Linked DNA regions of Homo sapiens: region 2 is linked to region 1. The links are contacts of gene promoters, found by promoter capture Hi-C in blood cells and fetal thymus (Javierre and others, 2016). All regions are on one chromosome and are shown on one strand. The core of a region is centred on a gene start or on the middle of the fragment in contact, and the rest is flanking DNA. Distances in the headings are between cores, read along the strand shown.

Region 1 (4,886 bases), core at 1,492-3,991:
CAGGATGCTGCTGCTGGGAATGCTCGGGCTAGTTACAGCCACATCTCTGAAGCTTTGTAACTTCGGAGGGGAGGAAAAAATGGGAGTAATTTGCTTTTTTTTTTTTTTTTTTTTCCTAGGTTCTGAAACTAGAAAACCTCTAGGTTCTTTCAAACTCTAAAATTCTACCTTTAAATTGTAATGCATTCTAAAGATTTAGATATGAAGACCCTAAATACCATCCCGAGTCTAGGAGAGAATCTGGATGTAATACTTCTCAACATTATCTTCTCAAAGTACAAAGAATAGAATTGGCTTTAAGAATGCTCTCTAAACCAGATTATATTGAGACAAGCCTATCATTTCTGCATCACTGTTTTCTTTGTTTAAGAAAACGATTTGGGTATTGCTGCTGCAGCAGTGGTTGATGATATTAAAATCAAATAAAAATATTACTCTTGAAACAAATGAAATGATTTAAGCCTATCTCTCTAAGAAATCGCATGAAAATATACCTAGGAGGCACACATTGTATTGTCATCAAATTAATTTGTTTTCTAAGCTCAAATGTAATTTAAAATGAGATATTTCTTCAACTGGTTCAATCAACAGACAGTAGAAGGATTCTACGGAGAGAACACAGGAAATAAACCCTACAATAATGTTAGAGCAAACAATCGGCACTATAGTTCTGTCTTCTATTGCTTGTGATGCTTCTAGAAAGTATTTTTTAACGGCTTCCTGATGAATTGGCTCTTGGTATCAAGCCAGGCTCATCTCTGGCTCACATCTGCAAACTTTTCCCCATCCTCACGTCCTACAACAAATCCATCTTCAAGACCTGCAAAGTTCTTGGTCTCAGCGTTTCTCAGAACAGACCCTTCTTCATCTTCACAGACACGGGGTTGGGGATCCCATTCCTGGGTTGCGAAATGACCTTCTCCTTAGAATGACCCAAAGTGCAAAGGCATCTTCCTGAAATAAAGCTTTCATCAAGCCATTTCTGCTATGGAAACCTCCAGGGATTCCATTGCTTATGGGATCCAATTTAAATGCTGCAGTTGAGATCCCCATTGTTTCAGTGGGCAAGTGCATTATACTTCTTCACAGACTTTAAACCTCCACATTCGAGATTTTGCTACTAGGAATGTTTTGCCCTTTCTCTGTGCCAACTCATGGCCATCAGCACCTCCAATTCTGTCTTGAAACTCACTTTCTTACAGATATTTTTCTTGTTTAATATCTACTTAGTAGATACTAAACAGCAAAGTAGCAGTATCTACCCAGTAGACACTAAATAGCAAAATAGATACTGAATAGCAAACTATTTAGTAGATACTAAAGTAGCAAATAACTCCTGTTTTTGAGCTTTTAATCACATTTAGTGCTCTTAAGATAAATTATCCAAGTCTGGGGATAAACAACTCACAGAGATTTTCATTCTTTAAGAAGCCACCGAGAGTGATTTTACTTAAAAGACAGCACTCACATTTTCAGTTGTCTGCCTTTTCACTAGGAATCCACTTAAGAACCAGCGCAAAAGGACTCCGTTTGGCGACCTCTAGCGGGCACCGGACAATCCTACAAAATTACGAAAAGTAGAGGGCAATGAAAAACTCTTCCCTTTAACCAGCCAGGTTACCCTGTGGTCAGATGACCGCATCTCACCCTACCCCACCCTTATTTTTTTCTTCTAGTATTTGTTTTGCATCTAACACGGTTCGCCTTACAACTCACCTGTCTCGCCTCCGGCGGGCTGGGCTGCCGGTGTCGGGTGTCAGGTGAATGAATTGCTGGTAGCAGTTTAAAATAATCCCTGCCAAGTGGAACCCGCTTTCTGGGCACGGACAAGAGCGCGGGGTAGATCGCTCTGCGGAGCCTTCACGGGGCTCTTCCCGCTCGGAGGGCCGGTGCTGCAGCCGGGTCAGGGGTGCGCGGGGGAAATCAAGATATTTTGAAAAGGAGGATGCAGACGAAGACCAAGAGAAAGGCTGTTTTTGCCGGTGACAAGGCGTTCCTCCCCAGACTTTCATCCCACTCTAAGGGCAGCATCTCGAGAGGGTCCAGGCGCGCTACACGTTAGGCGCCTTCTCAGGACTCGCGCCCCAGAACGTGGGGGCCGGGGCCGGGTCGGGGACCGCTTCCCTCCGCGGGCTGGCAGGCGGCACCGAGGCTGGGGGATGGGGCGTGTAGCCGCCCTCTGAGCACGCGGTACGTGGGTCGCCCCGCGCGGCGGTAGGAAGAGCAAAGTCGGCAGGAAAAGCCGTGGCTGGGATGCCTTCCCTGAGAAATCCTTAGGGGCGATGTCAGAACCCGAGCTGGGCTCCGGACAGTTTCTGGAAAAAGCTCTCCAAACGCCGTCTGTCCCCGCACCCGAGTCCACACTGGGCTTTGAACCAGGGCTGTTAAAAGGGGCCCTGGGGACTGCCCAATTCATCCCGATGGCCCAGGGCAGGACGCGGGAGCAGGCATCCCGGCGCTGGGCTCCCCGCTCCCCCGCCCTGCGGACCCCTCCCCGCCACTACGGGCCGGAGCGGAGGGGGAGGACGGCGTCACGAGGCGGGGAGCCCGAGGTCCAGGGCGGGGCGCCCGGGAATCCCAGCCCGAGCAAGCCGGGGAGGTGCGGGCGCGGGCGGGAAGCGGAGGGCGGCGCGGAGGGAGGTGAGCGGCGCGCGCGGAGCCGGCGGGCGAGGAGGAGGACTGCACAGAGGCCCCGCCCCCGCCGCCGCGAGCCGGCTCTTCGCCGCCTCCGAACCCGCTCACTTTGCCTCTCGCCTCTGGACGGCGGCGGGGCGGCCGCCGGATTCGCGGCCGCAGGGAGCGCCGGAGACGGGGAGCTATTCCGCCCCGGCGGCTCCATTCGGCGCCCGCAGCCCTCAGGGGGTCGGCCCCGCGGCTTGGGAGAGGGCACCGCGGCCTCGGTGTGCGCAGCCCTCGGGCGCGAGGGTCGGCGGCGCGGACACAGCCGCGTTCCCAGCCGGTGGGGCTCAGCGCTGGCGCCGGCGAGGACTCCCCGGCCACCCGCAGGTACCGCCGGGCGGAGGGCGCGCTACTAGCAGCGCCGGAGATACTCGAGCCCAGGGACCCCCGGGCCAGCGGAGGGCAGGAGCGGAGCCCCGAGGGAGCGCGGGCCCCGACGGCGCGCTCCCCCGTCAGCCACGGGCAGGCAGGCCCCGCGTGGCGGCTTGGGGTGGGGGGCTGCAGCGGGGCCCTCGGGCCGAAAGTCCCCCGGGCGGCCAGCCATGACCTTCGGGCGCAGCGGGGCGGCCTCGGTGGTGCTGAACGTGGGCGGCGCCCGGTATTCGCTGTCCCGGGAGCTGCTGAAGGACTTCCCGCTGCGCCGCGTGAGCCGGCTGCACGGCTGCCGCTCCGAGCGCGACGTGCTCGAGGTGTGCGACGACTACGACCGCGAGCGCAACGAGTACTTCTTCGACCGGCACTCGGAGGCCTTCGGCTTCATCCTGCTCTACGTGCGCGGCCACGGCAAGCTGCGCTTCGCGCCGCGGATGTGCGAGCTCTCCTTCTACAACGAGATGATCTACTGGGGCCTGGAGGGCGCGCACCTCGAGTACTGCTGCCAGCGCCGCCTCGACGACCGCATGTCCGACACCTACACCTTCTACTCGGCCGACGAGCCGGGCGTGCTGGGCCGCGACGAGGCGCGCCCCGGCGGGGCCGAGGCGGCTCCCTCCAGGCGCTGGCTGGAGCGCATGCGGCGGACCTTCGAGGAGCCCACGTCGTCGCTGGCCGCGCAGATCCTGGCTAGCGTGTCGGTGGTGTTCGTGATCGTGTCCATGGTGGTGCTGTGCGCCAGCACGTTGCCCGACTGGCGCAACGCAGCCGCCGACAACCGCAGCCTGGATGACCGGAGCAGGTACTCCGCCGGCCCTGGGAGGGAGCCCTCCGGGTAGGACGCACTGCTTCTCTACCCGTCCCGTCCGTCCTGTCGCGTCTGTCCGTCCCGTCCATACGTCCCGTCTCCGTCCTGTCCGCCTCCGGGCGACCGAGCCAGCGGGGTGCGCGCCCAGCGAGGCCCAGGCGCGGCCAACTACGGGACCGGTCGGTCCCCACTCCTACCCCGTTGTCCGGGGCACCAGCGGGGTCTGGCCCTTACACTAGACGCACCTCTTGAGGGCGAAATCCTCAGGCATGGGGAGGGGCGTGTAGAGATAGACAAATGTCCCCTCTTTGTAGTTTACTTTTGCGCAGAGAGCAACCTGCTAATTACATTTTTCTGAACTTTTATTGTTAGGGTTCAACAATTAAGCCTTGAACTAAGCGCAGTTTGAATTATTTGCCAATTTTTGGTAGTGTTTGGAAAGATGGATTCTTGTTATGGTGAAATGTGCACTCTCCACACATTCTATACACTCTGCCCCCGGCATACTATGTGCTGTAATGGAATCGTTATATTATAAAGCAGGTTAATTTATCGATAGACTCTAAATAATGGATGTCTGTGCCCTTTTCTTCCCCCTTTTCCTACAAAGTATGGAGTTAGCAAACCTCTTGTCCACCGTTTGGTAGCAAAGATTCACACTGCGACTTTCAGAGGGTCTATGATATGGGAAGGGAAAAAACCATTACCTTGAGAACAAAGAAAAATCTAAACTGTCCTAAATCCAGAAAACAGTATTTGGGTAAATTTTTTTTTCTACTTTACTAGGATGAATGGGAAAATATTGCAGTCTTTTCTTAGACTGTCTTACCTTGAAGTGGTGATAGCACTTTCCTGTTTTTAGTACAAGTGAGCATATTCAGTGGGAGGAATAAGCAGACTAAGGATGGACTTTCAAAGAAGACAGCCTTTTGGGGCACAAAACCCAAACTGCATATTATAGTTTATCTGTTTGACACTGTCTTAAGATCCTCCTTCCATTCATTTTTTAAATTTAAGGTTGTGCCCT
Region 2 (4,886 bases), core at 955-3,454, 620 kb after region 1:
TGATTTTTTAATAGTTTGATCAGAGCTGCTTATTTCTTGACCTCTTTCGGAGACCTTCTGGAAAATTCTGGTGTCAGAGAAGGAGCACTCAGGAATCAGGAGTCAAGAGTTGCAAACTAGGCTGGGTGCGGTGGCTCAAGTGTATATTCCCAGTAGTTTGGGAGGCCAAGGCGAGAAGATCCCTTGGGGACCAGGCCAGGAGTTCAATACCAGCCCGGGCAACATAGTGAGACTATGTCTCTTAAAAAAAAAAAAAATTAGCTAGACATGTACCTGTAGTCCCAGCTACTTGGGAGGCTGAGGTGGGAGGATCACTTGAGCACAGGAGTTAGAGGTTACAGTGAGCTATCATTGCATTACTGCACTCTGGCCTGAATGACAGAGTGAGACCCTTTCCCAAAAAATAAGAAGCAAAGAGTTGCAGACTAGATCTTGTTCTGTGAGGTTGCTTAACCGCTCTGAATTTCAGTTATAAAATGTGAGGGCATTGGTTAAACCTGCCCTTTGCTAGGATCCGTCTAATAACACCCTATATATCTTTGATTTCTCTGTGAGCTCTGCAGAGCTGACCATCTCCAAGACTGGGGGAAAGTGGTTGTATAAGGGCAGCTTCTTATAGGGAATGGCTGGGGAGCAGGGCTGTCCCCAGAGAGGTGATGGGCATTTATATAGTTTTTTCGGCATCACAGACACAGGATTAGCTTACACTAGCAACCACCTACACCCTCCCTTGGCATGAGCCTGGAGTCTGGGAGGACTCCACCTGGATGGGTGGCAGGTGGCATCAGCTCTTCACATCCATCCTTGGTTTCCCTTGGATCCCTCTCCATCACTGTCTTTATTCACCTCAGCCTCCCCCAGCTGGAGCCACAGGCAGCCCTGTCCCATTCCGGAGCCAGTTCTGACCAAGGCAGGAAATGGATGTGGAGCCTCCGCCTGCCACTGGAGGGAGGAGGGGGCTGGAATTAGGTCTCATGTTTTCAATCAGCAACAATCGCGCCTCGGTTAAACCTCAGAGGCGACGGTGGTAGCACCACTCAAAGCTTACATTAAGTTGTTTCCTCAGATGTGGGATCCAGAGGCTTAGGCACGACTCACAGGCTCCTGGGTGCCTTTCTCCTGCGCTCAAGTCTCCTTTCCTCAAATCCAAATGAGGACTGGGTGTGTCAGAGGCAGTCTGGCTGCCTGGGCAGCTCCTGAGTTCCAGAATTTCCTAATCTTCCTTACCCCCAATGGCATCTGCAGCAATTCCCAAGTCCATAATCTGACCATAGTATTGTCTGGCCTTCCAGACCCTTCCTTGAGGCTCATTTGGAGGCTGGGTGCCCCTGGGACAGTGCAGCCTTCCTTCTGACTGTTGGGGATAAACAGCTCAGGGTCCTACCCCAGGTCTGGACTCTGCTGGCATCTCTTCTAATGTCGGGGGTCATCTGTCAGTTAAGAACTACCCTGAGGAGTGGCCTCCAAAGATGGAACCATTAGCTCAGAGGCGCAACATACTTGGTTCCATAAGCCTGCCTCTTTTATGGCCCTAGGAAAGCAAGAGCAGATCAATACATGCTTTTTGAAAGAATCTCAGAGTTTGTGGCAGAACCATTCTGAGATGTGATTAGGACTTGGGACACACAGGTCTTCCTAAACTCTTCTTGAAGGACATTGATTGACCTGAACTGTAACTAATACTGGCTAAGCCAGAATCTTGGAAAAGGTAATATGAGGAAGGTTGTAGTGATAGGAGCTTTTGGTGTCTGAGGAGCAGAACTGAAAATGGAGAAGCCAAGGAGGGTAGAGAATTGGTCAGGGTGTCTGCCTAGAGGCAAGTAGACGCTGATTCTAGACAACAGGTGCTGGGCCTCAGACAGTGGGGGAACAGTGTGTGCTGGGATTGGCCCTCGGAGCATGCAGCGCCCAGGCTCAGGTTTGGTGCTCCTAAGCACGGCCCTGAACCACTGCTGGCCGGGGGGCATTCCTCTACCTCCAGGCTTCGCTGTGGCTCTGCTCTGAATTTGCTATTTGACAAGGATAGCCAGGAAGAGCAGTTCCCTCCCTTCCTCTGCCTGCGCCAACCCCATCAGCAGCCTGTGGTCAGAGGTGCCCTCCTACCCCCATTTCCATGGGTGCCCATGGGAGCAGCATTGGAGGGCAAATCCAGGAGGCCTCTCCCCACCTGCTGCCTCCATCACCCCCAGGGCTGCCTGGCCAGGCTATCTTGCTCACTTTCAGGAAAAGGATCACAGGGAAAGGAACCTCCAGAACCCTAGAAGAGAGACCTCAATGCCATAAGGAAGAGTCTGGGGCAGAGGGGACGGTGGAGGGTAGGGGAGGGAGTGAAGCCCACTTGAGCTTTTGAAAATCTTCCTCCCTTTGAGTCTTCCCCAGCCCTAAGGCTGTTGGTGGGGCATCAGCGACCCCTGCTGGCCACCACATCTGGGATTTCCTCTGCCCTCCAGACCTCCATAGCTTTCCCCTCTGCTTTCAAGCCTCCCCTTCTTCCCAGGTTGAGGATTCTCTTCTCCCCAGAGACCCCACTCCCCCTTCCCTACTAGCCTTGCCTGTCTGTCCCCAGTTTTCTTTTATCCTTTTCTTTTACATATTCCATTCCCTTTTTCTTCTGGCAGAACTCAGCTTCTGTCTTTTGGAGCCTCCCTGCAGAAAACCACCTGTAGGGAAGAGATGGATAAAGCAGTGATAAGGCACCTGGTAAAGCATAACACACAGGAATGTCCAGGGGCTCATCTGGGCTGGAACAATAGATCCCTTTAAATGTGCTATCTGTCCCTCATATTTCTTCCATTTCACTCCAAGCCGAAACAACTACAGTTTATTATTTTATTATTATTTTGAGATGGAGTCTCACTCTGTCATCCAGGCTGGAGTGCAGTGGTGTGATCTCGGATCACTGCAACCCCCACCTTCCGAGTTCAAGCAGTTCTCCCTGCCCCAGCCTCCTGAGTAGCTGGGATTACAGGTGCCCACCACTATACCCGGCTAATTTTTGTATTTTTAGTAGAGATGGGGTTTCGCCATGTTGGCCTGGCTGGTCTTGAACTCCTGACCTTAGGTGGTCCGCCTGCCTTGGCCTCCCAAAGTGCTGGGATTCCAGGCATGAGCCATCCTGCCTGGCTGAACTATGGTTTACTGAATGCCTATTCTGTGCCTGTCTGTGTGTAGGGGACATACTTTGTGCCTCACTTTGCTCCTGTCCAGAGGCACCAGTCTCATGTTGAGGCAGGAGAGGAATGGTTGTGGGAGGATGTGGGTGCAGTTGGATGTCCAGCTTGCCCTGCCCCAACCTCTCTATAACTCATGCTGGTCACAGTGATCAGGCTTTCTTTAGTCTCAGGGCACAAGATTCTCAAGCTTGGCCACCTCATTCCATAAAATAGATAAGAAGTAGCTGCCCAAGTGGAGTTCCCTCTCTTAGGCCTTTGTCAGTCTTGCTCTAGCCTTGGCCTCTGCAGTGTCCTGGGTTCTCATGGCTTGCCATCCAGATGCAGGGCATGCATGATGAGGGGTGTAGGTAGGGGATACACCCATCTCAGGAGGCCAGGACCAGAGTCCCCCGCCCACCTCAAAAGGGCCCCATGTAGGGGCTAAAGGCCGTGGTTAAGTCAGAGGATTTTTATTTTTCTTAAAAGGGAAAAAGCTAAGATACCCTAATAAAAATGAGGCTTATTCTAGAGCAGAAAGCTCTCAGCCTGAGCTCCAGTCCAACACAGATAGGCACTCACTTCCTGGCCCAGGCCTTAATTTCCCTATTATATGGGAGCTAGGATACCCCCCAAAGGTCCTTCTTTTTTTTTGCTCTGAAGTTCTGTGGTTCTATTTTTCTTGCTTTTGCATGGCCAGGCAGACTAGGATGCAGCTTTGATCTACCTTGCGCCAGCTACCTCCCACCCACTCACGTGGATTCTAGGCTTTCATTTTTGCTGGAGTAATATTTTTCTGATGTTTATTTTTAAAAGTTCTGCATCTGTGGTGACCATCTCCCATTTGGAAAATTAACTACTTACAGATGTTGTGTGTGGCACAGCATTCTCCCAGGCAATGAAACCGCTGGGGTTTGGCTATCATTTCAAAAGTAAGAGGAGGGAAGGAAAGATGTATGTCTCTGATGTAGGTGTCAAAACTTCTTGACCTTCTGTAAAATGCCCAAATGTGATTTACTTTTATAAATTGAAGAGTGGAGAATTTCTTAAGCCTTGAGAGCCCAAGTGTTAAAAAACTCAAATGGAAATGGTCATATGTGGGATGTTTATGGTCATTTGTGGAATGTTTGCAGAGGGAAGGCACTAGCTGCGCGGCTGGGGCTGAGTGAACTCCTATGCTGTGCATAGAATACAGAGCTTAGCCCTCATCACCCCCATCCCCATGGTCAGCTGTGGCCAGTCAAGGCAGTGATTTATGTTGCTTTCCAGGATCTAGGTAAAGTGCATCCCAGCCTTGAGCAGAACCAGCAGATCCTTCTGACTCCAGGGTGCTGTGAAGACTCACTGGCTCTCTACCCTGTGTCATCCACCCGACCTTGACTTTCATTTTTGATTTCTGCCCTCCCTAGGAACTTGCACACGTCCTCCTCAAGACCTCCATCTCCAGGCATCACCCTTGCTCCTCTCCTCCCACACAACAGAAAATAGTTCCAGGATTAAAAAGACATTTTGTAAGATCCCAGTGAACTCTCACACAAAGCTCATTTTTTGTTTTCTTATTCATTGGCCACCCCCAGCTTCCGCCTCCTCAACAGTTGTCAAATACAGGCTCAACTCGAGAGAAGGAGCCATAGCCAGCTCTTTGTGTGGATGTTGATGCTGTGTATGTGTGCGGTGTGTGTGTATCTGCAGAGTGGGGTTTGTCTATGTGGAGTGTACACGTGTGCTGGTATTTGT

The links. The method cuts DNA at HindIII sites, captures the fragments that hold promoters and counts their contacts. A CHiCAGO score of 5 or more calls a contact.
Region 2: a contact is called between a fragment that was not itself captured here and the fragment with the promoter of KCNG3 in region 1, in 2 of 17 cell types (naive CD4 T cells and activated CD4 T cells). The highest score is 7.3, in naive CD4 T cells.

The regions. Positions count from the first base shown.
Region 1 is chr2:42,491,837-42,496,722 of GRCh38, reverse strand. KCNG3 (potassium voltage-gated channel modifier subfamily G member 3) reads left to right here and starts at 2,741. Exons shown (of 2, transcript NM_133329.6): 1 at 2,741-3,886. The coding sequence starts at 3,222. It also overlaps a transcript of MTA3 not described here. RefSeq lists enhancers at 1,420-1,714, 3,039-3,796, 3,797-4,554 and silencers at 2,469-2,548, 2,639-2,688, 2,869-2,958. The HindIII fragment of the contact is 17,203 bases long and covers 968-4,886 here.
Region 2 is chr2:41,867,430-41,872,315 of GRCh38, reverse strand. It overlaps the pseudogene RNU4-63P. Among named protein-coding and RNA genes, the nearest start is that of LINC01913, 7.7 kb to the left of the region's middle. RefSeq lists a silencer at 2,399-2,498. The HindIII fragment of the contact is 2,317 bases long and covers 1,046-3,362 here.